Regions from separate parts of the Homo sapiens genome. Here regions 1, 2, 4, 5, 6 and 7 are each linked to region 3. Evidence: promoter capture Hi-C in 16 types of primary human blood cells and fetal thymus (Javierre and others, 2016). All regions are on one chromosome and are shown on one strand. The core of a region is centred on a gene start or on the middle of the fragment in contact, and the rest is flanking DNA. Distances in the headings are between cores, read along the strand shown. Region 1 overlaps FOXP1 (forkhead box P1). Region 2 overlaps FOXP1 (forkhead box P1). Region 3 holds the start of FOXP1 (forkhead box P1). Region 4 overlaps FOXP1 (forkhead box P1). Region 5 overlaps FOXP1 (forkhead box P1). Region 6 overlaps FOXP1 (forkhead box P1). Region 7 overlaps FOXP1 (forkhead box P1).

Region 1 (4,045 bases), core at 556-3,055, 370 kb after region 3:
GAGTGTTGTTCCTGTCCCAAAGATGTCCAGTACCTCCACCCCTCACAGCTACCATGGGCATGCCAGGGAGTAGCAACACCCTTTCAAAAGTTTCTTTGGGTGTTTAGTTGATGAATGAATCCTGTTGAGAATCTGGCATTATCAGACATCAGATGGTCCCGCCGTTGACCCTGTAGTCATCCAGTGGCCCCAGCACTCAGCAGGCAAAGAGAAGTGGCCCCACTGTTGGTACCTGTTCTACCTATTCAGGGCACCTCAAGCCCTGTCTTTCTCGTTGGCATGTTCGTGACAGCATGATTAAGGTAGCTTGATAAAGGACTTCTGTTTCTTTCTAAATCTCCTCCCAGGCTCAGCACTTCCCCATGGGGGAGATCCAAGGTCTAGGTGCTTATTTAGACCACATGATAGCACATGGATGGATGGGCGGAGCATATCTCTGTGCAAAGGGGCCCCTCAGCCAGAGCTGGACTTGCCTCTCACCAAGCAGGCAGATGCTTTTGTCCCAGCTCCACCTAAGTACGCTTTATCACCAGCTTCTGGCTGTTTCTCAGATTCCAAGTTCAATCCTTGCTAACTGTAGGGACAATATCTGCATTCTTGACTTTTAGGCCGACTGATTCTTTGTACTTCCCAGCCATTCACTCTAGATCCATTCATCATCGTAGTACCTGATTGGAACCCACTGCACCCTTCATTCATCATGTAACACAATGTTACCATTTTTATGTGTTTGTAAGATTTGAATATATACATATGTATGTTGCATTTTATTTTTATTTTATTTTTTTTGAAATGGAGTCTTGCTCTGTCGCCCAGGCTGGAGTGCAGTGGCACGATCTTGGCTGACTGCAACCTCCACTTCCCGGGTTCAAGCGATTCACCTGCCTCCGCCTCCCGAGTAGCTGGGACTACAGGCACCCACCAGCACACCCGGCTAATTTTTGTATTTTTAGTAAAGACAGGATTTCACCATATTGGCCAGGCTGGTCTCGAACTTCTGACCTTGTGATCCGCCTGCCTCGGCCTCTCAAAAGTGCTGGGATTACAGGCGTGAGCCACCATGCCCGGCCATGTGTATGCTGCATTTGAATTGTGTGGTGGTAAAAATTGAAGGGGTGCCTTAAAAAAGATTTACTTTAGCTCTGTATTTTGAAAAAACTCTTTCAGATACAGTTCTTTATAGTGTTCAGCTGTGTTAAATGGTCTTGAAGGGTAGCTTAATGAGAAAAGGTCTTATGTGTTAAGGACATCATTATATTGTTAAAATTCTGCTGAATGTAAATAGGCAGATGCCTGTAGTTTGTCCTGAATCCTTTACTGAAGGGCTTGCCTTAGTTGTCTTCACATGGACAAACAAGGCACAGGAATTACAGATGATGAATGAGGAATATACCACTGATGGAATTTTCTTAAAACACACCGTGTGTTTCCACATCTTTCTTTTTACATTAGAGTTTCTCCCTTCATTTAATTTTCATTTGTTTGGGAGTGTTATTTTGGATTTAATCTATGTAAACTATATGCCCATGCCTTTGGATTAATGGACTTCACAAAGGTAGTGATTAAAGTTTACAGATGTGGGAAGCTACAAATACGAAAGGAGGCTTACATTTTTCTCTTTTTATTCATTCATATATATATATATATATATATATTCCCATTTTGTAATTCCTTAGCATCATGTCATTGTTCCCATAAAAATATACTGTATTTTCTGAAATGATACAATCTATGAAGCATTTCCCATTACGTAGACACCATGTCTTTAAATTATAGCAATTTCTTAAGATTTTAAGGCAAAATGAGCTCTTAGAAGTGTGATTAATAGCAGGGAATGAGGCTAATGCTGGGTCATCAGTGGCACTCCATTACAAAAAGGTTGGATTAATAAAAGCATTCATCTTTTTGACCAATAAAGCATTTGAATGATATGCTTATAGTTCTTATAGTAGTTACTTGCTACTAAATAAACTCTGAACTTGTATTGTGGAAAGGCGGCATGACTTAAGTGGCTGATGCACAAGTTTTTTGATGGTGTGAGAAAAGGCAGGCCTGGATGGGAGGCTCATTGTTGGAGCTACTGGTTTTTAGGGTGTCTTCTACAAGCGTAATACCCATGAACTAGGAGCCTCATTTGGTTTGGGGGCAAGTGTAAAGAATCTGGCTTCTTGGTTGATTATGTCTTTAGCAGTGTAAGTGTCCATGTAGCCCCTCAGTACGTGCTTTGTGAATTGCACTGTTAGGAATCCAGTGCTTAAGGGTCAAGATTATAGCGTGGAGGTTCATGAGGGTCTCTTAAGTCTCCTGTAGCTCAGTTGCCCAATATATGAGCCTTGTACCACTCACGGATAGGTTGGGAGAGGATTTTTTGGTGGCTCGTAAATCATTCACCAATTCGCATTACTGTGGTTCAATGTTGAAGCAATTCCATTTTCAATTCTTTTTTAATCCTTCTGATAAAGCCAAGGAGAAAGTCTCAATTTGGTACTAGTATCTTTAATCTGTCTCTCCCAGTTGTAAGCTCATTATTTAACAAAGAAAGAACATGGTTCCACTCAGAGCCTCTGAGAAACAGCAGGTTCTAGCAGAATTTAATATCATTGGTTAGGTTTTATAACATGCATTATAAAAGTCTTTCTCACCTACAAAGGGTTACATACTGGTTTTCCATTTGAAGAAGTGATACAAAGTTTCCTCTGAAGGTAGATTTATTTATCAAAAGTGAATCATTTTTTAAAATAACAATATGGTAGATGTGGATGGAGATGGTGAAAATAATGAAGACAGAAGTAAAAGTGAATGCATGGGGCTTGGGAAACTAGCTCCGGTGTCCACTAAGATGCCACAACCTTTCTGAGATTCTCAGAATTTGTAAGATTTTCATTCTGGGGAGGAGTTGTGAAAAGAAAAATCAGTCCTTCCCAATCTTGAGTTAGCCCAAGGCCTCTTTAGAACTATTTTCTATTTTAAAAATAATTTGTTGAACAGCTTATATAAAAGCCTTCTTAATGTACTTTTTTAAAAATAAAACTTTTACAATTTGGGATTCATGGGGAATAAAATAAGTAAACTGGGTACATAGAAGTAAAACTAAATGTGGGCCCGGCATGGTGGCTTATACCTGTAATTCCAGCACTTTAGGAGGCCAAGGGGGGAAGATCACTTGAGGTCAGGAGTTGGAGACCAGCTTGGCCAACATGATGAAACCCTGTCTGTACTAAAAATACAAAAATTAGCCGGTTTTGGTGGTACACCCCTGTAATCCCAGCTACTCGGGAAGCTGAGACAGGAGAATCACTGGAACCAAGAGGAAGAGGTTGCAGTGAGCCAAGATTGCGCCACTGCACTCTGGCCAGGGCAAAAGAGCAAGACTCCCATCTCAAAAATAAAAATGGAAAAATAGAACTAAATGTGGGTTAGGGCAAGTGTAACACCACTGCTGGGGAAGAGGAAAGAAGACACATTATTTATCCTGCTCGTGATAAGGAATAGGTGAAACCATCTTCAAACAGAAAAGAGTACCCCATTCAAGCAATGATTATATGCCCAGGTTTAGCCTAGTTTTCAAAACTCCAGGACTCAATTATGATTTCCCTTTATGAAGGGAAATTGTTACAACTCTTTGGATTACCATTTAGAATTGTCAACTATGTTTATAATCCTTTACTAATATTCTGGTTCATCCAGGGTTCAGGAAAAGAAAATAAAAACTGAAGCTCAGGAGAACTGGACAAGAGCTGAAGTGCAGAGAGTGAATCATCAGCATTTTCTCCTGAAGACAGGACAGTGAGGATACCAGGACACAGCCCTCCACTTTGACTTTTTCATTTTGTTTTTCTCTTAGGTTTTCACTGGGGTGTTGGTTATAGAAGCCCCTTCACTTTTCTCTACCTCCTAGTCATCCATAGGGTAGTGAGCACGGAATCTGAGAACGTTCTGTTCTCAAAACATTAGAGGGAAGATTCTCTCTGTTAGTTGTTCCAGCAGCCGGACTTGCATCATCAATCAGTTGAGCAAGTCTGATTTTCTTTCTCAAGGGCAGTAG
Region 2 (3,801 bases), core at 984-3,483, 310 kb after region 3:
TTAGATATGTTTCTGTTGGAAGGAAGTATTCTCTTTTTTTGAGACAGAGTCTCGATCTTGTCACCCAGACTGGAGTGCAGTGGCATTATCTGGGCTCAGTGCAACCTCCACCTCCCAGGTTCAAGCAGTTCTCCTGCCTCAGCCTGCCAAGTAGCTGAGATTACAGGTGTGCGCCAGTACACCCGGCTAATTTTGTATTTTTAGCAGAGTCGGGGTTTCACCATATTGGCCAAGCTGGTCTTGAACTCCTGACCTGAGGTGATCTGCCCACCTTGGCCTCCCAAAGTGCTGGAATTACAGGCGTGAGCCACCACACCCAGCTAGAAGTATTCTTTAAACAGATGGGTGCAGTAGCATTTACTTCATATCTTGCACCTTGGGAGGGAGAATATAACTTGCCTAATGGCATAATAATTGATTTCCCCCCTTGTCACTTTAGAATAAGACTTTATAACGCCCCCAGAAAGAGTCGAAGATGAAACATGACAAACCAGAAAAATTTATTGGCCAAGGTGTCCACTCCACTTGGTAACTTTTTGAGGGCCTGATCTGGGGTTATCTGTCCTGTAAGAAGATTAAGATCAACCCAGTTAAAACACGGTGGGCCCCATCCCTGCTAAGACCAGGTTACAGGATAAAACTCTCATCCCTCTTGGTTGTTAAGACGAAATTTTCATTCACTTAAAGCATAAATCCTTTGCATAATATTTTTATGCTTGTTCTTCTCCTGTGTGTAAACCTTTATTTGGCGCCTTCTCTCTTCTGTGGGATTGACTTTTTAGGGCAAATGAGAATTTTGAAGATAATTACTCTCCTCCTCCATTCCTGTATCTTTAACAACTGCCAGGTCCCAGTGACACTTTGATAAAATGTTTTTAGAGCCAGTCACTTGTGTTGCTGTGGTCTGCCTTGTCGTAGAGGCACATCATTTTTGCACATCAGTATTAACAGTTCAAACACCCTGAAATGCTAATAGCACTAGTAAGCTTTTAATTCCATGGAATTTATTGCTTGCTGTGTTTCCATGAATTTATAACGCTTTGATTCTTAAGAGCCCCATTTAATCAGTTTTGCCTGGCACCGAACATAATAAACAACTTGCTGGTGAAAAAGTGCCACTCGGGGAGGCTGCTAACAAGGAAGTTAAATGCTTCTGCCACGAGCAGTTTCTTCGCTGTATTTTTCATGAGCTGTAATGTACTTTGCTGGCTTCAGAGCGGTGGTTAAACACAGTGACAAACCGAACCCACTCCAGCACTCGGAAACTCAGACTTTGCTAGGTGCTTTGGCAAAAAGTATAGAAGAAATCAACACTTTCAGCCTTTTCCCCCCTGCCTCTAACTTATTGGTTTCTAATACTTTTTCATTATCTTTACCTTAATCTCTTAGCATATGATTTATGGACTGGAATGGTGAGTGATATCAGTGGGCAAAAACAATCATTAGAGGCTGTTAAGGAACATTTATTGTTTATTTGGCTACCTGTCTATAAAAGTACACATGAAGGCCCTAATAGCAAAATATCAAATTATCAAGTGCTTTAAAGCAGAAAATGTCATTTGTTTCTCAAAACTGCACCAACTTTATATAATTGCCCTTTTAATTATCCCTAGTGGCCCGTGAAATTTGCAAAATAGAGCATCAAAGCTTTGATTTACTTACATGTTGCACTTTGGCGGGATTCTTAATGAATATTGTTTAGTACTAATGCTGAGATGGAATTCGTAAATGTTTATAGTGAGGGACTTACTTAGAAGAGTGGGGAGGCCAGTAATGAAACTGAATCAACTGGGTTCTTCAAGATGGAACAATATGGCCATATTCTTGGGCCTAACATTTTGAAAAATTCTTTTTATAGTGGAATTTTATTTTTAATTCAGGTCTAGATGAATACACATTAAGTTTAGTTTTGCAGAATCTTTTTTTTTCTGCCTAGCTATCTTATTACTTTCCAAGGGCTTTTGAGGAGTAATTTGTTTCCTGGCAATTTCGGATTAAAATCACCTGTTTCTTCATAAATTGTCATCTTCAAGGTAACACTGAGAACTGGATCTCTGAAATCTCATGTTTTCGAGATGATTTTTATAGCTGCAGACCTGTGGGCTGATTCCAGACTGAGAGTTGAAGTTTTGTGTGCATCATCATGTGCCATTAAATGAAAAAAAAAAAAAACAAAAAAAACCCCACTCTGAGTAGCTGTGAGTCCAGGAAGGGCCTGCATGGGTAGTGGTGCCACTGCAGAGTGAAGTTTCTATCTGTCTACGTTCATTTACCTTCCCAGATTTTTGTCTTCCTTCTGCACAGATGAACCACGAGGCTACATGTTGGGTAATAAAAGAAGTAATGATACAGGCTGGTGATAGGGAGACCCTGGAATTTGATTCCAGGCTGGCTCAGTGGGCACAGGAAGCTCTCTCTTAATATCTCAGTGATAGAGATATTAAATCATCCTGGTGGACAGGTGGACACCTGTGGAACATCACTTGTTAGACATCCCCAGGTTGACAGCACACCAGCGATAACCGCCCTTTGGGTGTGGTATGCCTGCTTGCATCTTCCCAGCCCACTGATGAGAATGTCACAAGGGACAGAATCAGGGGACTAACAGAAGTCTGTAAGATTACATCTCTCATTTCCCCTTTATCTACCTGTCTTATCACTTGGTCAGAGGGGCTGGCATGATGTGTCTCCAAGCAAACCATGTTGGTTGTTTTTCTCAAAGTGATGGTAAAAAGATTATTTCCCCTCAGTATCGCCCCTGGTGTGGAAGAGAAGAAGATCGGTTTTAATTACTTGGCTCATCAGTTTTTGAAGCTTCTTCATTATATCCCACTACCCCCCCAACTTTCCCAGTCTTCTGGGGCTTTTCCTGCCCCTTGGAATCTCGGAAATACATTTGTCAGTTCTCAAGCATTTTGGAATACTTTATCCTTGTGATGTGACTGTATCTGATTTTTAGAATTATTTTCCGCCTCCTTCATCTAGCTGATGGCAATTTAGAAGCTGAAATAAATTAGCCGGGCGAGGTGGCGGGCGCCTATAGTCCCAGCTACTCGGGAGTCTGAGGCAGGAGAATGGCGTGAACCCGGGAGGCGGAGTTTGCAGTGAGCCGAGATCGTGCCACTGCACTCCAGCCTGGGCGACAGAGCGAGACTCTGTCTCAAAAAAAAAAAAAAAAAAGAAAAGAAAAGAAAAAAAAGAAGCTGAAATAATTTTAAAATCATTAAAGCACAGACTTTTTTTTTTTTTTTTTGAGACGGAGTCTCGCTTTGTCGCCCAGGCTAGGGTACAGTGCTGTGATCTCAGCTCACTGCAACCTCCATCTCCCAAGTTCAAGCGATTCTTCTGCCTTAGCCTCCCGAATAGCTGGGATTACAGGCACCCACTACCATGACTGGCTAATTTTCGTGTTTATAGTAGAGACAGGGTTTCACCATATTGGCCAGGCTGGCCTCGAACTCCTGACCTCAGGTGATCTGCCTGCCTCGGCCTCCAGAAGTGCTGGAATTACAGGCATGAGCCACTGCGCCTGGCCCAACACAGACATTTTTAAGTAATCTGTTAACCCTGTCTACCAGAAGTGATAATATTTGCCTGGTTCAACCTCTTTTATCTTATATAATTTTACATAATTACATCTGCCACCCTTACCTGTTGTGTCTTTTGCAAACTGTGTCTCTATTCTTGCATTTTTAGCTCCATGACCTTGTCCTTCCTTATACAATCGCTTTTGTTTTTGGTCCTCAACATCAGCAAAGTGATTTCCACCTGTTTGCCATTTCTACTCGCAGATGCAGTTCT
Region 3 (4,146 bases), core at 1,588-4,087:
AAATGGACATCGAGTTCTTTAATAAGGCAGCACAGCACATTAGACAGTATCATACAAAATTGAGTACAATATATCATGGGATTTACAACCAGGATTTCCTTTTGTCTGCAAAACTTGTTGCCAACCTGACTGTGGCCCCCACTTGCAAGTGAATGTAGAATTTAAGGCAGTTAAAATGCAGAATCAGATTAGCAGCAATCTAAAGATCTTTTTAGTATTGCGATGATAATAATTTTTAATAAACACACTGCTTAATCTGAAAAACAAGATCAGAGGATGAATTGTTCTTTACAGACTATGAATAGATCTGTTACATTTAAATAAGTCGTTATTCCCCTGAGTTATAATTCTACAGTCAGGCATATACCATAAACATGTTATATTTGGCATAAAGTACTTTAGAAATTAAAAACCATTTTTAATAGGTTGACCACTACAGAACCAGTAGACTGGCTACTTTGTAGATTTCCACTTAATTCCGTGTGAATTCAGCATATGGAATTTCCAGTGATGTCAAAGAGTTGTTGGCAGTATTAACTGAGTTGACATAAAGCTTTTAGTTCAGTGCCTAGATCATAGTATTTAATAAATGTTAGATGTTATTATTGACAGCTTAGACTGTGAGCTCCTCAAGGGCAGGAATTTTTATTTTTTCATCCCTCTGTGCCCACTCTGTGGTCTAGCACACAGTGGGTATGTCATTAATCCCTTTATGTCTTGACAAACAAGACGTCGAACCCTAGCCTCTAGGAAGCTAGGACATTCCATACAAACTAAAATGCATTTTATTGGTCTAGATTCTAGTCTAAAAGATTCAGTGAATAGTCTTATCTGGATAGCATGGAACTTTATGCAGCATGCATGCAATGTGAATTCTACCAGGCTGAAATTACCTTAGCAGCCTCCCTTTCTTTTATTCTGTAGCATCAGCGAATGGCTTTGTTATTTTTTTTTTTTAACTTGCGAAAGATACAATTTCAAAGCGATAGTCTTATGCCACCCTTGAAATTAAGATTTAAGTTCTTCTGTAAATTAATGTTTAACAATATTTGTAAAGGGGCATTACGCGAAAGAATTTAATAATAACCTTTTCAGGATATTATCTACAACTGTGCTGGTCTCAAGACCAAAGGGACAGTAAGCCTCTCCCCTCCCCGCAAGGGGAAGTACTTTGTAGGAATCCACAGGGGTGACTTTTAATATATTCTCATAAAGAATTGGCCTGGTGTACACCAGCCAGCCAGTAGCTGGAAATGCTGGTTTGGGAGTCTGGCCACTTCTGTGGTGGTGGGTCTGAAAAAATTTACTTCTGTTAACAACAACAACAACAACAACAACAAGACATAGAGGTCTTACAGCTTTCCAAGTCACGTTTTGGAAACACATACTCTGCTTCCTTCTCTATGCGTATTGATAAAAGTGAAAGAAATACTAGTGTCTTTTGTTTTATGTATGTATATTTCAAAACATTTAATTCAGGCTCTTAGTTTATTCCTTCGAATTTCTAAATTCAACCAAACTTCAAAAACCGCAAAAAGAAAAAAAAAAATCTCACCTTTTCAAAGAATTGGACAAAGCTTTTTGCACGTGACTGATCACTGGGAGAGCAGGTAATTTGTGTTAAACAACGGACTGACATGCTAGCCCCCAGGCGTTTTCCTAAGAGGAGTCGTGGCAAGAACACAGTTCCTGATGCAGCCACCTTCCCCCAAAGTGGACTCGATTGCACATTCCTGCAGTGGCTCTGACAAGGGGGCAGAAGCTCGTCCCACATTCACACTCTCCTGATTCCGAGAAACAGGGGAGAAAACCCCTCGCTGGCTGGCGGGGTTTCTGTTTCCTTGCAAACAGGGGTTTGTCCTTCTGCTGAACTTTCACCTCCCGAACTCGCCTTCTTTCATTGGACAAAGTGCAGAAAGAAAGAGGAGAGACCGAGGGAGGACGGGAGAGAGGGAGAAAGGGGGTTGAAAACACCACCTCCCACCCCGCTCTCCTTCAACTGTCACTGATGGCAAAACACTTTCACTTTTAACTGGAGGAAACTCACATTCTAGCCTGTCCTCTCCCCTCCCTTTCATATTTTTAGCTCAGAATCCAAGCAAATAGCCATCGCATTCCCATCTTCGTCCCTAGTTAACACTCTCCCTTCTCGTTTTTTCCGCTGTCTGAATGGGCCCCCCATTTCCCATCTCCTGAGGAATCTCCCCCTCCGCCCCCCTGCCCCTTATTTTCCAGGTCTTTCCTGCCAGATCCCTCTGTTGCCAGGGACTGCTCTGGCGTTCCCTTCCTCTCTCTGGTCCGCGGGGCTCTGCCTCCCTCTCCTCTTTCCAATCCTGCCTGGACGCCCCTCACTTCCCCCTCCCTGGATCCCTCCCCCCAACCCCCCCCCCCATTCTTTGGCAATTGCGATTTTTTTTTTCTGGGAGCCCGGTTGTTTACCCAGCAGGTGGATGTGACGTCAGGGACGCACAACAGCAAAAAATAACAACATCTCCCTCCGCGACGTGTTGGCCTCTCTCGCGCGCCTTATTTATTTATTTGTTCCGGGATGTCGGGGGGGAGGGGGGAGGGAGGAGGGGGGTGGGCGCCAGCGCCCCGGCGAACGGCAAAGAGGGAGCCGCTCCCGCTCGGGGGGCCGCTGGAGTGCCCAGCGGGGTGCGTGAAGCGGAGAGGGGACCCCTGCGGGAGGTAGAGGGTCGGGCCGGGGTGCGCCCCCGGGCCGGTGCTGCCCGCGCCTCTGCCGCCGCCGCCGCCGCCACCGGCGCTGGCTGGGCTCCGGGAAGCTAGTCCGGAGCGGAGGAATCTATTGTTATTTATTGTGTGGCGGTTGCACGCTGTACTCGCGGCGGCCCGGCCCTCGCCCGGGAGTGCGTGTGTGCGCGCGTGTGTGCGCGAGTGAGTGTGTGCGCGGGGTGCGCGCGCGGGCGGGAGTGGGCGCGCGCGGGGAAAGGCCCGAAAACACCTTAGTTTGCACCGAGAGACCATTTGCAGCGGGTGAGTTTGTATTTTTCCATTTCTGCTCCACTTTTTCCCAAGCCGCCTCCTGTCTTGTTTCCGCCACTTTAAACAACAACAACAACCAGCACAAAAAAAAAAAAAGAAAGAAAGAAAAAGAGAAAAAAAATGGAAAAAAAAAAACAACTACTTTCCACCTCCAGGCTCCACGTGCATCTCCCCCAGCCCTCCCCTCTCTTCCTCTCCCCCCCGGGTCGAGGCCCAGCTCTGGGATGGGTGGGGGCTGCGGGCCGGCGCGCGGGTGGAGGGAGCTCCGGCGGCGCCCGCACCCTTTGGGTTTATTTGCATAAGTCAAATGGGGGCGGGGGCGGTGGCGACTGTGAGGAGGCGAGATCGCCTGCCCGTAGGCCCCTTCACGCCTCTCTCTGCGCTCTCCACGATCGCCTAGGGGAGAGAAATCAATAAGCCCAGGCCGCCTGGCGCAACTTTCGATGTCCGGCGTTGGCGTCCGGTGGCCGCCCGGGCGCGGGGCCGGTGCGGGGTCCCGGGTCCTGGCCGCGGCGGGAGGGGGCGCGCGCCGGGCGCCTCCTAGGCCCAAAGTTTAGACTTGGAGCAAACTTTTCCCCTTCTTTCCCCGCGGGTGTGTGCCCCCTCGGTGCCCTTGAGCTGCCCCGCGGGCCCCAGCAAACTGACTGTGGTGCCTGGCCCTGGGCCCCGCACTGGGGAACTTCCCCGCTGCCACGCGCGCGTTACCCCGAGAGTCAGCGGCGAGGAAGCTCTCCCGCCACCCCCTCGGAGCCCGGAAAATTCAAACACGCACCTGCGCACCCCCAGCCAGACACGCACCCCTACGCGCGCTCGGCCTCCGCTTTCCCGAGACGAGTCCGCAACAGCCGTGGCCAGATCCACGGGTGGGTGCGGGAGCCGGATGCGCTGCGAGGAGTCGCCGCGCCCGGATCTCTCTCCCACCATCACACACATTTTCTGATTTTACCCCCCTCTGAAGCTTGGGGGACGGGGAGATTTCCCAAGCTCCGATTTGTCCTGCGTCGCGCGCGTGTCGCCTCGTCCCTCCGGCCCTGTCCTGGCGGCCGATGGCTCTCCGTCCCTCGCTTGCGCGCAGCCTTCCTCCCGAGCTCCCTGCGCTCTATTCCTGTCCCGCCGAGACGACTCCCTGGAGCCAGCGAGCCG
Region 4 (4,001 bases), core at 675-3,174, 490 kb after region 3:
ACACACACACACACACACACAGAATCTGGCACCTGTAGCTCAAAATGTTACCTGCCCTTCTTATAGCTGTTGTTCTGATCATTATATTATGATGATGTTGGTTTGGGTTATTACTTGTGAGATCCTACAGTGGTCTGGACACACAAAAAATTGAATTTTATATAATACTGAGGCTTTCTGATGGTAGTAGATGGGCAGAGAGTGGCAGTTGTCAACCCCCTATGCATTTCAGAGCGAAGTGCATTTAGAATGGCCATACCTATGTTATCATATACCTATGTTATCGTCTCTGAATCTTTGATATATGCCAGATGGGTTGCAAATTCTACAGTGAATTGTTCACTTCTGTAGGTCTTCTGTGCAGGACCCTAGCTCTCCTGTAATGGCAGTGCAACTGCTGAGAAGAAAAGACAGAGTGCAATGATCATGCTTCCCCACTCTGACCCCCTCCTAGTTCTTCCCTGCACTCTTAAGGAGGCAGTTGCACAGTTATTTTTTATTTGACATTATAGTTACATATATGCAAAGAAGATCAGGGAGTATGCTCATTTTATTGTGTCTTGATGTGTTGGGAAGGGAAGCATGGATTATAAAATTATCTTTTCATCAAGCCTTCTAGTTAGAGTTGACTTGCTTCTCCTGGGGACTGAGTAATTTGTTACTCTTCATTGCCCTGTTACTTTTTCCCCCCAAGGGTGGTTCTCCTCACACCTGCAGGAGACTTGTTCTTTCACTTCTGTATTATCACATTACATACTGCACTTATGAAAAACGGGGCAAATGTTTTCTAACAGCCATCGTGACAACTCTGTTACAAACAGGGAGGTACTGTTTAGTTGAAAAACATGGGAATATCCAAGAAAAATGTGAAAGAAGCTTAGAAAATGAAATTTCTTGAAAATAGGAATCGAGAGATTTGTTTTATGATGGGAGCAAGGTTGAAGAAAGTAAGGAATTGATTCCCCATTAGAGATTGCAAACTGATGGCCCGCAGGCTAGATACTGTTTTGTTTATGCACACAACATTTAACCTTTTTTTGGTTCGAACTTTTTGAAGGCTTTCTTTTTCTTTGCAAAGATTTAAAAAATCTGGAGATTTCCCATGAAAATCTCATTTTCTGTCATCTCCTAAAAAAGAAAAAAATCAGAAGTTCAAGCAATATACATAGCACCAGTTATCTGGAGCAGAGAAATGCTGCCCATTCCCACTTTGCCATGGACTTCAACTCATTTCAGTAGCCTGCCTGTCTGCTGTCTATCCCTCTTCTAAGTGGCTCAAGGTTTCATGAACAGATTCACCTCAGAGTCTCAAAGGCAACAGCACGCTATAGTGGCCCAGCTAGAGCCCAGGCATTTTGGAATTCTTGATTTCTTTGTATCTTTGTACCCTGATTATAGACTGATGTCTTTTTAAACTGGCTGCCTTGTGAAAATTAGAGTTCCTCTTTCTTAACTAGGACTGTGGGTAGTAGTGATCCCCATGTGGCAAGGATGGGGCAGGGAAGAGTGTTCCTGCAGGAAGAAAGTGTGTGCAAGCCAGATGACATGCAACTGCCCTCATGATCAGATTTGGATAACTCTGTTATTTACTCCAAACCTTAGTGTCTTACAGTTTAAACATTTATTCTTTTACACACTTTCTGTGAGTCAGAGATAGGGGAGTGGCTTAGCTGGGTGGTTCAGGCTCATAGCATCTCATGAGATTGCAGTCAAAATGTGAGGCTGGGGCATGATTGGGGCTAGGGGAGCCGCTTCCAAGATGGCTCGCTCACATGGCTGTCAGCAGGAGGCCTCAAGTTCTCAGGCTGTGGACCTCTCCATAGTGTGACTTCAGTGCCCTTGTGATGTGGCAGCTGGCTTTTCCCAGAGTGATCCAAGTTGTGACCTAGCCTTGGAAATCACATACCATTACTTCTGCCATATTTATTGGTCACAGAGACCGGCCCTGACATGGTGTTGGAAGGTACTATCCAAGGCATGAATACCAAATGGTGAGAATCTTTGGGGCTTGTTTCGGAGGTTGGGTGCCACTGATTCCAACCTCCTCATTAGCCCTATTTAGAATCAGAGTAAGAGCAAGTCAGTGTAATTGTTTATAAAGTGTCATATCCTTCAGCTATGTTGGATGGAAGAAAGGTCAAAATGTGACCTGAGCACTGGTGTACTCTTGGCGTAAGGTCATTGGCCAAAGTATTATTCACTTCACTAAAAGATTTGCCTGTACTAATAAGAAAGAGAGATTGACAAAAGAGATGAACTGCACTAAGGTATTTGGTGAGTTCGATTTCTTTCTCAAATTATGCAAATTTCCTCCAGCGTTTCCCCCTAAACAATGGGAAGTTGCATATTCTCAAAGCTGTAAGACCTTCAAAGATAATCTCAGAGTGATTTTAAGGCAAAATAAGTAGTTTAATATTTATATCTAACTGCATCTCTGGTGTCTCAGAAGTCTTTGACATCATTGGAATGACTTTGTTAGTACCTTTCCCATAAATAGTTAGCTAGACAGGTGAAAGTTCAAGAAAAATAATGAGATCCTTTACGCAACTCAAATAGACTGTTCATGAGATTCCCTGTTCAACAAACATCTGACAAATTATTGGGTGGTTGTGTTGACCTAGACACCTAGAGTGAGGCACCTAGAGTGAGCAGCAGAGAAAGCAGCCGGGAGATTACATTCTTATGGGACATTAAACTGGTAAGCCAAAAAAAAAAAAACAAAAAACAAAACAATGTATCACCACATGTTGTGTGACGATGAAATCTGTAAGAAAACAAAGTAGATTAAGATAAACACCGTGGTGATGACAGTCCCATGTTTGACTGGCTGGCCAGGGAAGGACTCTGAGGAAATGGTCTTTGAGTAGAGACCTTGACTGAGTGAGGGACTGAGTCTTGCGTCTATCTAGGGAAGAAAGTTTCAGGTTCGGGGAAGAGCAAGTTTAAGAGCCCCCAATCAGAAACAAGCTTGGTTGCTCTTTCGCAATTTCCAGAGACTCCATCTATTCCCCAGCATCTTGGTTCTCACCACTGCACTGCTTATGGTTGACCGTCAGCTTTGCTTTTTTGACCATAGTCTTACAGCCCTGGCTTAGCCTTCTCTGAAAACATACATTTGCACACTAAGCCAGATTCACATGGGAGGTACATTATGCCGTGGCCTAGTCTAGTGTGTATTTCCCCTTTCTCTCCCCACAAAGATTTTACAAAACTTATACATGCAAACAGGTATTTTTGTTTGTTTCACATGAGTCGCTTTTGCATAATATAACAAGCCCATGATTTCACATGTACAGTAATTCATAGAAAGTGATAGTCATCTTGCTTAGACACCTTAGTTCTCAAATCTAGCCTGCTAAATATAGTACCTTCTCAGACCCATATAAGGTGTCATAAAAAAAGAAAAAATAAAGGTCAAAGTTTCCCCACCCACAAATTTGGTTATAAAAACAGCAAAGCAGGGTTTTTCTGAACTTGAATCAGTAAATTTTTAATTTAAATAGTATCCTGTTTTGACAAAGTGCTAAACCACAGAGGTCTGAGAAAGACACTCTTAAGCCTTTGTCAATACCAGCTGGCATCTCTCAACAGGAAACCTTGGATGACTTTTGTTGTCATTTTGTGATGCACTGACAAGGAATGCGTGCCCTTATTTGTTGCATCAAGGAAATGGTCAGAGTACCTCTGATGCGGCTCGATGCCGTTTACATCAATATGTTGCATAATCCTTTGCCAGACAAAACCGGTATTTTGTTGTCGTTGTTTGATCAATTAACATTGGATTTCTGGCTTTGCTAAGTGCACCTCCAGAGCAAGACACAAAATGATGTCACATGAGTTCTGTTCTCTGACCCACCCAACAAAGAACTGAGCTAACCTGCAACCCTTTTCCTGCCTTGGTCTTTTGATCTCATCAGTTGTGCAGCTCACCTCTTCAGGGCCTGCACAGCTCTTGAATGGTGTGGACTGTCCCGAGGAAATCCAAGGTACTATAAGAGCTC
Region 5 (3,960 bases), core at 238-2,737, 390 kb after region 3:
CAGGATTCAGATAATTCTGACAAATAAAGAAAAAGCAGCCACAACACTGACCCCCCAACATGTTCTTAATTCCCTTTGGGGCTGTTTCTAGAAAAGGCATATTTCACCCTGAATGCTAAATTTAGTTCTCTACTCTGTTAGTTTAGACCTGCCTTCCATCAAAATATTGTTGTCAAAGATTTATGTAACTTGTGATTTGAGCCTTGTATGAAATTCTTTCAAGTTTTGATTACTAAACAGTTATGTGTCATTAATCTCTCCATTGAAAATTAAAATGGCACAAGAAGCAAAAGAAGAAAAAAGACCTGTAACAGAGGAGAATGTGGTAATAGAAAGCCAGGTGCCACATTTCATTATGAGTGAAGTGTACCCTCTTGACTTCAAGAGAAAGCTTTGCCACTTTGAAAAGATAATTTTAAGCCCTGACCGGTGAGCTAATAAAAATAATCATAAAAAAAGAACGCCCTATCTCTTGTCTACTCACAAGTCTGTTTTTGAACTTTCAGGAGGTATGACTTTAATGGTAATTTGTTGACAGATTAGTTTCAGTGATTGCCAAGAGTTTGTTTTTGCAGAACTGGCAGGTCCTATCTGCTCTCTGAAGGCAAGGAACCTACTTTGCTGTTTTGCAATGGCTTGCGTTTATCAACAACTAGTGCTGAGCAGGCAGAATTGGAATGTTTATATAATGTAAACCTATAGCTCGCCTGATGGAGTCTAGTGTACTTTTAGGTAGTGCATAGATTACTTGATAAAAAGGGTTACAAGGTGACTGCTTTTATGACAAAGAAGAATAGCAATATAAATGCCAGTGGTACACTGAGCCACAAGAAGGAAGTTTATGTAGGGAATTGAACCCCATGTTAGAAAGTTTCTTTTCATCACTTTGTCTTTGAACTCAAATCTATTGTAATTATGAAGTGTTACTTGTAACATTCCAGAGACCCTTTGCTAAATACTGTGTTTGATTTGATTCATAAAAATAGAGCCACATTATCTCCCCTCCCCTGCCGACAAGAAAATGTCATGAAGAGTTTCCCATACTGACCTTGTCTCAGCTTTGTTGCAAGTGGGCTCATAAGTGAGCTCCACTAGAAAACAGCTGCAATTTATTTCTTTGATCATTTGCATATTTTCATTTAACTTTTTCTTTTTTTTTTTTTTTTTTTTTTTGGAGATGGGGTCTAGCTCGGTCACCCAGGTTAGAGTACAGAGAGTACAGGGTTGCGATCATGGCTTACATGGCTTACTGAAGGCTTTACCTCCCCGGGCTCAAGCGATTCTCCCACCATCAGGCTTCTGAGTTGCTGGGACGGCAGGCCAGCTGTTTTTTTTTTGTTGTTGTTTTTCTTTTTGTTTTCCTGTAGAGATATGGGTCTCACTATATTGCCTAGGCTGGTCTTGAACTCCTGGGCTCAAGCGATCCTCCTGCCTCAGCCTCCCAAAGTGCCAGGATTACAGACATGTGCCACCACACCCAGCCTCATTTAACTATTATTTATTGAGCCTCCGTATGTGGAAGAAAATGGGGGTGGAGGGGGAACTGATATGTTAGGTGCTAGGAAAACATGGGAGAATAACTTAGAGTTTACTTAGCTAGATCCCGAAGAATAACTATGGAGGCAGTAGGAAGATGGGAAGATGGTGAAAAGGCAGATTGGGTTCGGCTTATGGGAGGGTTCTAAGTAGAGAAGAAAGATCATATAAGAGGTGGTGTATTAAAAGTAAATGAGAAGGTTGAACCTAGCTGGCTTGGAAGGGAAGAAATCCCGGAGAGATGAGTGGCCATGACAGCGCTACTGCAGTTGGTCTGACATTTAGTAATCGGCCACTAACGTGGCCCCAGTGAATTGAGGGCACCCTGTTGTTGATCCCTCCTGGCTTCTTGAACATCTCCTCCTCCATCTGAATCCCTTAGTGAAGTCTAGGTTCCATCAGGGAATGGGGGCCGGGATCACCTTCCTCATTACCTGGTACTTCCACAGCACACAGCACAGTACCTGATGTAGGGCAGTTCTGTGACAGACTATTTATGAATGAGTGACACAGAAAGAGAAAGGAAGGACTGGATAAGAAGAGATTGTTGAGGGGAGTGTTGGGAAAAACAGGACCTTTTGAATTATGAGGTATGCAAATACCAAGGAGTGGGAGTTACCAATGATGAGTCAGGATGTTCCATCTTAATGACTGGCAAAATGGGGGCACCAATGAAACAGAAAGAGAGAGGCATGGGGAAGAACCTGAACTCCTTTCTTAGCTGCCACTAGGAGGTTAAGAACTTATAATAAAGGATGGGCTTATTTTGAAAAAGTCATTTTTTAAAAAGACTTCTACAGAAAGACATTCTGTGTAGCTAAAACTCACTATTTTGATTGCATATGTTTATTTGTGTTAAAATTATCAAGTATTTTCCATTTAGCCTTTGACAGTTACTAATGAATACATCTTCCAAAAGTCACATGGGAAGTACTGATAAAATGCTTGTGTTCCCATTGATCATGGAATGGGCTTATCTCTTTGAGAGAACAAAACTATGAAGTTAGATCTTTGATAAAGTCTTTGTTCCATATTGACACAAGCTTCTTATAATGACTTTGTTTTTAAGGTGGTGGGGGAGCGTATGTTGTGTTTCTTTTGTTGGAAAAGTACAATGTGCAATTATTAAACAGCTGGTGCTATTGGAAGACTCATTTAGGAGGTATAGATTAAACTGCCTGGGGACATAAAGGCCCAGTCTTCTTTGTGTATTTAAATTTAGCCATGCCCAGAGAGGGAAGGCAGGAAGCAAGCTCTGTTTTTCTCTTTAGTCCTTCCATGTGGACATTTTGCAGGATCTTCTGCATAAACTGATAGTGCAGATACCAACTGTGGAGGATATTGGATTTTTTTTTAAGGTTGGTAACCCTGTGTTCCCCTTGAATTAACTATTTTATCCCTATTGTTAGACAGCTCCTTTTTGACTGTACCAAAAATAAAATGAACTTCCTAACACATATTAATCTTCAGCAAAGTTTCTTCAGGTAGACCATTAATTTCAGAATTTATTATCCACACAAACACAACTGAGTTGTCAGTATCACAGCCACCTATTAAAAGAGACAAAGCAGCTGGTGGCTCACGCCTGTAATCCCCTTTGGAGGGCGAGGTGGGCGGATCACCTGAGGTCAGGAGTTCGAGACCAGCCTAGCCAACATGGCGAAACCCCATCTCTACTGAAAGTACAAAAATTAGCCGGGCGTGTTGGCATCCACCTGTGATCCCAGCTACTACTCAGGAGGCTGAGGCAGGAGAATCACTTGAACCTGGGAGGCAGAGGTTGCAGTGAGCCGAGATTGTGCCACTGCACTCCAGCCTGGGCTACAAGAGCGAGAGTCCATCTCAAAAAAAAAAAAGGAAAAAAAAAATAAAGAAAAAAAGAGGCAAAGCATCCACTGATCCTACATTCGTGTTTTTATCACATTACCTTGTCTCATCTTCAACTTCGGTCTCTCCACATTGAAGGGAAGGTGACATGATGTCTTCTTAGTCATTCAAATCCAATAACTTTTAATCTGAAGGTTAAGTAGTGAGATATAAACTAAGAGATGATAATATCAATTTTATGTTCACTGAAGGGCACAATATACCTCTTCCTAGTAGAGGGAAAATTGTGCGTAAAATGTCTTTTGCTTTTCAACAGCAGAGTCATGCCTCTCAGAGCCAAAGGAAGGAATATTTTTGGAAAAAATTAACAAAATAAGAGGTAGCATCCTAAAGCAGGGCAAAAGTGACTTTTTATTATTATAATTATTAAGTGTTAATTTTTCAGGGCTGCATGATACGAAGTAGTTCTCTTTATAGCCTCCTGTATTCACTCTTGATATACCCTTTACAAACTCAACAACCTTTTACAAGGTTAAAGACTGGGAGAGAATGACATAATGCTCTTTCTTTCCTGACTATTTTTAGTCCTAATGTGTA
Region 6 (3,706 bases), core at 167-2,666, 420 kb after region 3:
CTTTAAATAGAGCAGTCGGGACCGGGCGCTGTGCCTCACGCCTATAATCCCAGCACTTTGCGAGGCCGAGGCGGGCAGATCACGAGGTCAGGAGATCGAGACCATCCTGGCTAACATGGTGAAAACCTGTCTCCACTAAAAATACAAAAAATTCTCCGGGCGTGGTGGCGGGCGCCTGTAGTCCCAGCTACTCCGGAGGCTGAGGCAGGAGAATGGCATGAACCCGGGAGGCGGAGCTTGCAGTGAGCCGAGATTGCGCCACTGCACTCCAGCCTGGGCGACTGAGCAAGACTCTGTTTCAAAAAAAAATAAAAAATAAAAATAAATAAATAAGTACAGCAGTCTAAGTTGTAGGTAGCATCCATGTTTATTTCTAGCCCTAACATGGAAGAGAAACCATCTGATTATATAGGCTACTCATTACTTTGGAACCAACTCTGTTTCTTTATTTGGGGATTGGACTGATGGCATGGGATTGAGCTTTCGTCTGTGCAGAATTTTACAGACAGACTCATGTTCTGCCAGGCAGACATTCAGCCCTTGATCTTCTCACAGTCGCCATTGTGAAGGAGAGCAAGCCCTTTCTCCACACTCTCTGTGGACTACTTTCTAACTTTTCTATTGTCATGGGAGAAAAATTTAAAAAACTGATTAAAAGGGGGCAAGTGCATGGCTTCTATGAAAACTCTACCGCTCTAAACTGTGGGACTGCTTGAAACTGTTTGTTTTGGCTGGCCTCGGTGGCAAGACTGACATATTTATGTAGCAAGCTCACATGTAATATTTAACTTGGAATTTTACACATAGGAATGATGAACTAAACAGAATATAAGGTTTTGTTGTTGTTGTTGTTTCCCTGCTTGTTCTGAAATGTGAGAAAATATCGAGTTGACAAGTTTCAACATGGTCACCTCTTGCTTGGCCAGCACGATTCATAATTAGCCAAATTCCTTGATAATGCTGCAGAGATTGGGCACTGAGCAGCCGCCACGTTTGCTATGCAAGAGAGTTAATAAAATTTTTCAGTGCTGGAGGAAAGCTTATATACAGTAGTCTGTTTGTCCTGTGTTTCCACCACCTGAGTCACAGCCAAAAAAGCAATTGTCTACTACATATTTCAAACAGATGCTGAGGGGTAGAAAGGGTGACCAGAATTCACAGCAATAAAATCCCGCTCTCTAAGTTCCCTTGAAGGAAGTGAACTCATAAAATTTTTGCTGCTGACTTATTTGTCCACTCCTTTGAAGTATTTAACATTAATTTCACCTATAAATCATTGGCACCTCAATTTTTCATTGAAGTATCAGGACTGTTAAAGACATACCCTGGATGTGCCTGGAAAAAAAGATTTGGGAAGCAGATCCACTAATTTAACTGTTATTCACGTGCATCGTTTTGGTTGAAACCAATCCTAGTTACCGTCAAAGTTCTCTAACTCAAAGTCCGTTTTCTTTCTAGTTTGTATTTGTTTGTGCATATAATTACAGAAAACACATTTTAGATGGAACACCAGCTTGCTTTTTTCAGTTTCTTTCTGTTGCATTGATACATCTTCTAATGGGGAAAGACATATGATGGTACTTGGAAAAATGATGACAGCCGTAACTGGAATAATAAATGCTACCGGGAAGATTTTATCAAATGTAAAAAATAAAAATGAAGAGATCAGCCTTCAACTCAAGTACCCAGTAGCTAGACTATCAGTAGACAAGGTCTCCTACCTCATTAATCTGTGGGCTTTGATTAATTAACATATGTGGATAAAGGGGTACTATGTTCCAAAGGAAGCTTTTTGGGTTCTTTTTCCACATGTTGGCAAGTAACAATGGGTGGGGCTTCACCAGACACCTGCCCCTGTCTAAGTTTCTGTGCCTCCTGTCTCTATCAGTTTGACTTTTGCCACTGAATGTAAGTTCCAATAAGGTGGGGACCTTGTTTATGACGTTCTCTGCTATATCCTTGGTGCTTGACAAATAGTAGGAACCCAATAGATATTGGATTGGAATGGGCAGTTATTCAAAAAGTCTTAACCATCTTAACATTGGATGTCTTAATGGTACTGGCTCCCCCTTCAGTCAGAATAAAACTTCTAAAAGGATCATATGGACAATGCTTATATCAGTAGAGATGTATGAACAAAGGCTGTGGGAAGCAGTGGTTAATCAGAATTCTGGGCTAGTATTTAGTTGCATTTGTCCTAGTATTTTGGCCAGGTTTCAGTTAGCTAAGCATCTCTTATACCCTGTAATTTAGTATATGGTTTCAGCTCTCCAAATAATGGCTTGCTAATGGTAAATGCTGTTTAACTTTCTAATTCAGAGGAGCTACCTGTTCAGCAGAATTTTAAAAAATTGTAAGTGATGATTGAAACCAGGTTAAAAAGCACTTAAGGTACATCTGGCTGTATGCTTGGTGTCTACTTCGATTGGCCTGTGGCTATCATTATTCTTTTTGACTCTGCACATAAACTGCGGGTAGGGATTTTTCCTCAATTGGTCCAGAACTGAAACTTATCTATACTAAGGGAGCTTTTCCCTTTTGGGTGAATAATGCATCCTTCTTTTAGTTGCTGTGATGTGGAATGTTGGCTCAGTTTCTCTCCAGTGCCTTCAGTTATAGGTGCTCATCACTGTTGATTTTTATCTATGTAGTGGTTCTTGTGACTTCCCCATTCCCTCTAAGGACATCTGAATGTGTTGTTAAGTGATGCTAAAATTATAACCACTTAACAGATCTCTGTATCCACTGTTTTTGTTCATCCCACTCATCAAAATTTGGTTATTCTCTGTAAAGCACAACTCTGATGGCATCATTGTCTTGCTCCCTGTTTCTTAGGAAATTGAGCTTAAATTCTCTTGCTTGACATGCAGGGAATCAGGTGGATTAAAAGTGGCCACACATTCTTTTCCATTCCTTTCTTCAAGAGGTAGAGTCTAAGTGCCTTCTCACATTTACTCTGGGCAGCTGCGCTTTTCACTTGCTTTGGGCAGTAGAATGCAGTGGAAGTGACACTGTGCCAGTTCCAAGCCTGGTGGCTTTCTCTTTGTTCTGTAGGAACATGCTTGCCACTGCTGTGTCAGGAAGCTTGGGCCAAATGGCTGAATGATGAGAGGTCACGTGGAGAGAGAGGAGGGAGGATGAGAAAGAGAAAGAGACAGACAGGAAGAACTGAAGTACCCACATCTTGGAGGCCCAGATGAGCTACCAGCTGAATGCAGCTGCATAAATTACCCCAACCAAAGAATCGCCTAGCTGAGCCCAGCCAATCCCCAGAATTTTGAGAAAAAACAAATTGTTATTTTAAGCCTTCTGCGTTTTAGGATAGTTTGTTACAAAGGAATAGGGAACTGAAGCGGGAACCTTGGAAAGCAAGCCTCAATTTATCCTCCCATTCTTATTCTACATTTTCTTAGACCTTCTAAAATGTCAGGCACGTGTGACTCAGAAACCCACAAAAATGATTAGTGCTTCTCTTTGCTTATGCTATATCTTACTCCTAGAATATGTTTATACTCTATGCTTTGTACCTGGGAAATTCCTTAAGTTCAGTCACTCCCGTCTTTGGTCTTTCCTAAGGCCCCCATGACTCAGTGACTTCTGACCTCTCTCAGGCTTCTGTAGTTCAATCTACATTGGTATGAGGTTGGGGGAAAGATGATCATTAACTATTTGAGCAAGTAACATTCTCTGTGGAGGCCTTCGTTTC
Region 7 (4,002 bases), core at 858-3,357, 300 kb after region 3:
AGCAAGATCTCACTCATGCTTTTTAAATGGATCGCTCTGGGAGCTGTTTTGAAAATAGACTTTGGGTGGATGAGGTCATAGGCAGGGAGACCTGTCAGGAGGCCACTAGAATAATCCCAGTGAGATATGATGATGGCCAGGATCACAATGGCAGGGGAGGTGCTGAGAAGTTGTTGAATTTGGAATTTATTTAAACATTGAGCCAAAGGATTTCCTAGTGAAATTGATGGGGAGTTTGAAAAAGTTGCATCACAGAAGACTCTTAAGATTTTTGTCTTGAATGACGGGATATAATCAATAGGATTCACTGATGGATTGCTTATGGGCAGAAACAGAGGAGTCAGAAGACAAATGCTTTCTGTTCTAAGGAACTGATAGAAGGTGGTGCTCCCATCACTAAAATACAGCAAGACAGTGGGTGGGGCAGTTTTGGAGGTAGGGGAGGTAAGCAAGGGAGACCAGGAATGTAGTTGTAGATATGGGAGGTTTGAGCTATGCACCCAGACTAAGATGCCAAGTGGGCATTTGGATATGTAGTCCTGGAAATGTCCTAGCTTGGTCTATAAATTCAGGATTTATAAGCATGTAAGTGATACCTAAAGGCATAAACTTGACTGAACTCACCAAGGAAGCAGTGGTATAGAAGAAGAAAAGAAGAGTTCCAGGATCTGGGTTCTGACTCTGGGAGGCTGAGGTGGGAGGATCTCTTGAGACCAGGAGTTTGAGATCAACCTGGGCAACATAGTGAGACTCTTATCTCTACATTAAAAAAAACAAAAATTAGCTGGGCATGGTGGCGTGTGCCTGTAGTCCCAGCTACACTTGGGAGGCTGAGGCAGGAGGATTGTTCAAGCCCAGGAGCTTGGGGCCACAGTGAGCCACAGTTGCATCACAATACTCTAGCCTGAGGGACAGAGTGAGACTCTGTCTCAAAAAAGTAAAATAAAAATAAAAAGCCAACACCATTAAAAGTTTTAGTCATAGAATATTGAGAACAGGAAAGATCAGAGATGGGATGAAAACTCTGAGATTGTGAACCAGAAAGTCATCAAGGTAAGTGTTTAAAGTAGGAAACAAAGCTGAGCATGGGGGCTCACACCTGTAGTTCCAGCTACTCAGGAGGCTGAGGCAGGAGGATTGCTTCAGTCCAGGAGTTTGAGGCTATAGTGTGCTATGATCCTGCCTGTGAATAACCACTTCACTCCAGCCTGGGTGACAGACTATAGTGACTCTGTCTCTAGATAAAAAACAAAATTAGGCTGGGCACAGTGGCTCATGACTGTAATACCAGCACTTTGGGAGGCCAAGGCAGGCGGATCATGAGGTCAGGAGTTCAAGATCAGCCTGGCCAACATGGGGAAACCCTGTCTCTACTAAACATACAAAAACTAGCTCGGCATGGTGGCTCATTCCTGTAATCTCAGCTACTCAGGAGGCTGAGGCAGGAGAATTGCTTGAACTGGGACCCGGGAGACGGAGGTTGCAGTGAACCAAGATCGCACCACTGCACTCCAGCGTGGGCTACAGAGAGAGACTCCATCTCAAAAAATAAATAAATAAATAAATAAATAAATAAGAAGAGAGTTGTGAGCCATATCAAATTCTGCCAAGTGGTCAAAAAAGATGATGACAAAGAACTGACCATTGGATTTGTCAATATGGAAGTCATTGATGACCTTAGTAAGAGTTAGTTGTGTTTGAATCTCACTCCTATCATATTTACTGGCTTTATATAACTAGCAGTCTGCTGGCTGGCTGAACTTACATGGTTTGTATTATTTTTCCAGGAATAGTAATTGTTCAGCATTCTTGTTTGTTACAGTTACCACATTTTCCCCCACCCCTTGCACTCATTTTTGTGAAGTTTGGGTCATAGTACAACCTGTGAGCAGTGAAAAAGGAATCCTGGGCATTTTGTCCCTCTTGACCCGTTCTCTAATCTGATGGTTTGGAGATTTGCAGTTTAAATAAAAGGCATAGAGGAAAGTGGGATGTGTTTATAGCCCTAACTTAGAATATGTCGATTGTAATCATCTGAAGTATATCACAGATTGGTGTGGTTAACATAGTCTCTAGATTAGTAAAATACTAGTTTGAGCCTGAGCCACGTCTGTCTATCACCTTTACCTTTTACTAATATAGGTAGTCTTTGATGGGTTCATCTGCCTTTCAGATTACCTAAGAGCATCACAGATTCTAGCTTTCTCAAAACTTGTGAAACACAGTTGAACATTTTCAAGATTTCTTGGCCAGTCGCAAATCCTCAAGCATCCAGGAAATGGTAGGTTAATTACAAAAACACACATTATCTCTATATGGATGCTAAATACTGTTAAGATGGTGTTGGATGAAGGAAGGACAGTTTCTCTTTGTGGATAATTTTAAATGCACTTACGAAACAAAAAATAAAGGAAGCGGCCTTGCGTGGTGGCTCACACCTGTAATCCCAGCACTTTGGGAGGCCGAGACGGGCAGATCATCTGAGCTCAGGAGTTCGAGACCAGCCTGACCAACATGGAGAAACCCCGTCTCTACTAAAAATACAAAATTAGCCGGGCGTGGTGGCGCATGCCTGTAATCCCAGCTACTCAGGAGGCTGAGGCAGGAGAATCGCTTGAACCCGGGAGGCAGAGGTTGCGGTGAGCCAAGATCGTGCCATTGCACTCCAGCCTGGGCAACAGGAGCAAAACTCTGTCTCAAAATATATATATATGAAGAAGAAGTAGTGAGAAAAATTTCATTGGTAACCTTATTTAAACAGTTCAACATTGTAACTAAATCCTAATGTTATTGTTTTTATTTTATTTTTATTTTTTGGGATGAAGTCTCGTTCTGTCACCCAGGCTGGAATGCAGTGGCACGACCTCAGCTCACTGCAACCTCCACCTCCCAGGTTCAAGTGATTCTCCTGCCTCAACCTCCTGAGTAGCTGGGATTACAGATTCCCGCCACCAAGCCCAGCTAATTTTCGTATTTTTAGTAGAGACAGGGTTTCGCCATGTTTGTCAGGCTGGTCTCAAACTGCTGATCTCAAGTGATCTGCCCCTCTCAGCCTCCCAAAGAGCTGGGATTACAGGCGTGAGCCACAGCGCTTGGCCCTATTACTATTATTATTATTATTTTGAGACAGGGTCTCGCTCTTTCGCCCAGGCTGGAGTGCAGTGGTGCAGTCTCGGCTGACTGCATTCTCTTGCCTCCCAGGCTCAGGTGATCCTCTCCCCTCAGCCTCAATGAGTAGCTGGTACCACAGGCACATGCCACCACGCCTGGCTGATCTTTGTATGTTTTTAGAGACAGGGTTTCGCCATTTTCCCCAGGCTGGTCTTAAACTCCTGGGATGAGGGGATCCACCCACCTCGGCCTCCCAAAGTTCCGAAGTTCACACCTGTAATCCCACCTTGCCTGGCTATTTCTTATATATGGCATATTTAAAAACATTTGTCTATATATACTTTTACTGTATGTACTCTTTTTGTTTCCTGCTTTTATCATTAAACGATCTTAAGTGTTTTCCCAAGTTATTACTTAATATATCTACATCTTATTTTTAAAGCTACGTTCATTACTACCACTGTTGTGTTTTCTATACCTGCAACTGGTGGGTCTTTAGATTCCTTCCAGTTATTTGTGATTGTAACTACGTCTGTGTTGGACATCTCGAGATAACTCAGTCTCTTGAGTGAGTTTCATAAAAGATGTTGTGATTTTAGATAATCACCTAGTTTCTCCCTCTACTTTTAAATAATATTCAAATGAATTCCAGGCACATAAAATCATTGCTTGGCTCTGCGTACATGTGTTTTCTGTGATAGCATGAGGTAGAGTTTGTATCAACTTTGATGACAACATTTCTAGACATTAAGTTGGTAGGCAGTTTTTTGTTTTGTTTTGTTTTGTTTCTGATTTGAATTCTCCCTCGATATTTTCCCACTTCCCCAACTTGATTTGCAGCTTGTTAGATAAGGAACTTTGTATCTTTCAAAGGAGAGCCATTTATACTTT

What was found. The method cuts DNA at HindIII sites, captures the fragments that hold promoters and counts their contacts. A CHiCAGO score of 5 or more calls a contact.
Region 1: a contact is called between a fragment that was not itself captured here and the fragment with the promoter of FOXP1 in region 3, in 1 of 17 cell types (total B cells). The highest score is 6.0, in total B cells.
Region 2: a fragment that was not itself captured here is called in contact with the fragment with the promoter of FOXP1 in region 3 in 2 of 17 cell types (naive B cells and total B cells); the score reaches 6.1 in naive B cells.
Region 4: a fragment that was not itself captured here is called in contact with the fragment with the promoter of FOXP1 in region 3 in 12 of 17 cell types (naive B cells, total B cells, M1 macrophages and 9 more); the score reaches 19.7 in naive B cells.
Region 5: a contact is called between a fragment that was not itself captured here and the fragment with the promoter of FOXP1 in region 3, in 1 of 17 cell types (activated CD4 T cells). The highest score is 5.2, in activated CD4 T cells.
Region 6: a fragment that was not itself captured here is called in contact with the fragment with the promoter of FOXP1 in region 3 in 8 of 17 cell types (naive B cells, total B cells, M0 macrophages and 5 more); the score reaches 8.7 in naive B cells.
Region 7: a fragment that was not itself captured here is called in contact with the fragment with the promoter of FOXP1 in region 3 in 2 of 17 cell types (total B cells and naive B cells); the score reaches 5.3 in total B cells.

Annotation. Positions count from the first base shown.
Region 1 is chr3:71,210,560-71,214,604 of GRCh38, reverse strand. The region is part of intron 5 of FOXP1 (forkhead box P1); the gene reads left to right. Among named protein-coding and RNA genes, the nearest start is that of FOXP1-AS1, 77 kb to the left of the region's middle. RefSeq lists an enhancer at 3,889-4,045. The HindIII fragment of the contact is 6,766 bases long and covers 1-4,045 here.
Region 2 is chr3:71,267,470-71,271,270 of GRCh38, reverse strand. The region is part of intron 5 of FOXP1 (forkhead box P1); the gene reads left to right. Among named protein-coding and RNA genes, the nearest start is that of FOXP1-AS1, 20 kb to the left of the region's middle. The HindIII fragment of the contact is 1,167 bases long and covers 1,650-2,816 here.
Region 3 is chr3:71,582,419-71,586,564 of GRCh38, reverse strand. It overlaps FOXP1 (forkhead box P1), which reads left to right and starts at 2,837. Exons shown (of 21, transcript NM_001349338.3): 1 at 2,837-2,994. It overlaps FOXP1-DT (FOXP1 divergent transcript), which reads right to left and starts at 1,622. Exons shown (of 1, transcript NR_182289.1): 1 at 1-1,622. RefSeq lists an enhancer at 2,353-2,647 and a silencer at 2,725-2,964. The HindIII fragment of the contact is 2,384 bases long and covers 1,580-3,963 here.
Region 4 is chr3:71,087,118-71,091,118 of GRCh38, reverse strand. All of the region lies in intron 7 of FOXP1 (forkhead box P1), which reads left to right. LOC124906247 (a long non-coding RNA gene) reads right to left here. Exons shown (of 2, transcript XR_007095956.1): 2 at 2,404-4,001. Among named protein-coding and RNA genes, the nearest start is that of FOXP1-AS1, 200 kb to the left of the region's middle. RefSeq lists an enhancer at 3,176-3,275. The HindIII fragment of the contact is 2,091 bases long and covers 879-2,969 here.
Region 5 is chr3:71,187,852-71,191,811 of GRCh38, reverse strand. The region is part of intron 6 of FOXP1 (forkhead box P1); the gene reads left to right. Among named protein-coding and RNA genes, the nearest start is that of FOXP1-AS1, 100 kb to the left of the region's middle. The HindIII fragment of the contact is 2,188 bases long and covers 394-2,581 here.
Region 6 is chr3:71,160,812-71,164,517 of GRCh38, reverse strand. The region is part of intron 6 of FOXP1 (forkhead box P1); the gene reads left to right. Among named protein-coding and RNA genes, the nearest start is that of FOXP1-AS1, 130 kb to the left of the region's middle. The HindIII fragment of the contact is 749 bases long and covers 1,042-1,790 here.
Region 7 is chr3:71,286,594-71,290,595 of GRCh38, reverse strand. All of the region lies in intron 5 of FOXP1 (forkhead box P1), which reads left to right. It overlaps FOXP1-AS1 (FOXP1 antisense RNA 1), which reads right to left and starts at 838. Exons shown (of 5, transcript NR_126463.1): 1 at 625-838. The HindIII fragment of the contact is 9,286 bases long and covers 1-4,002 here.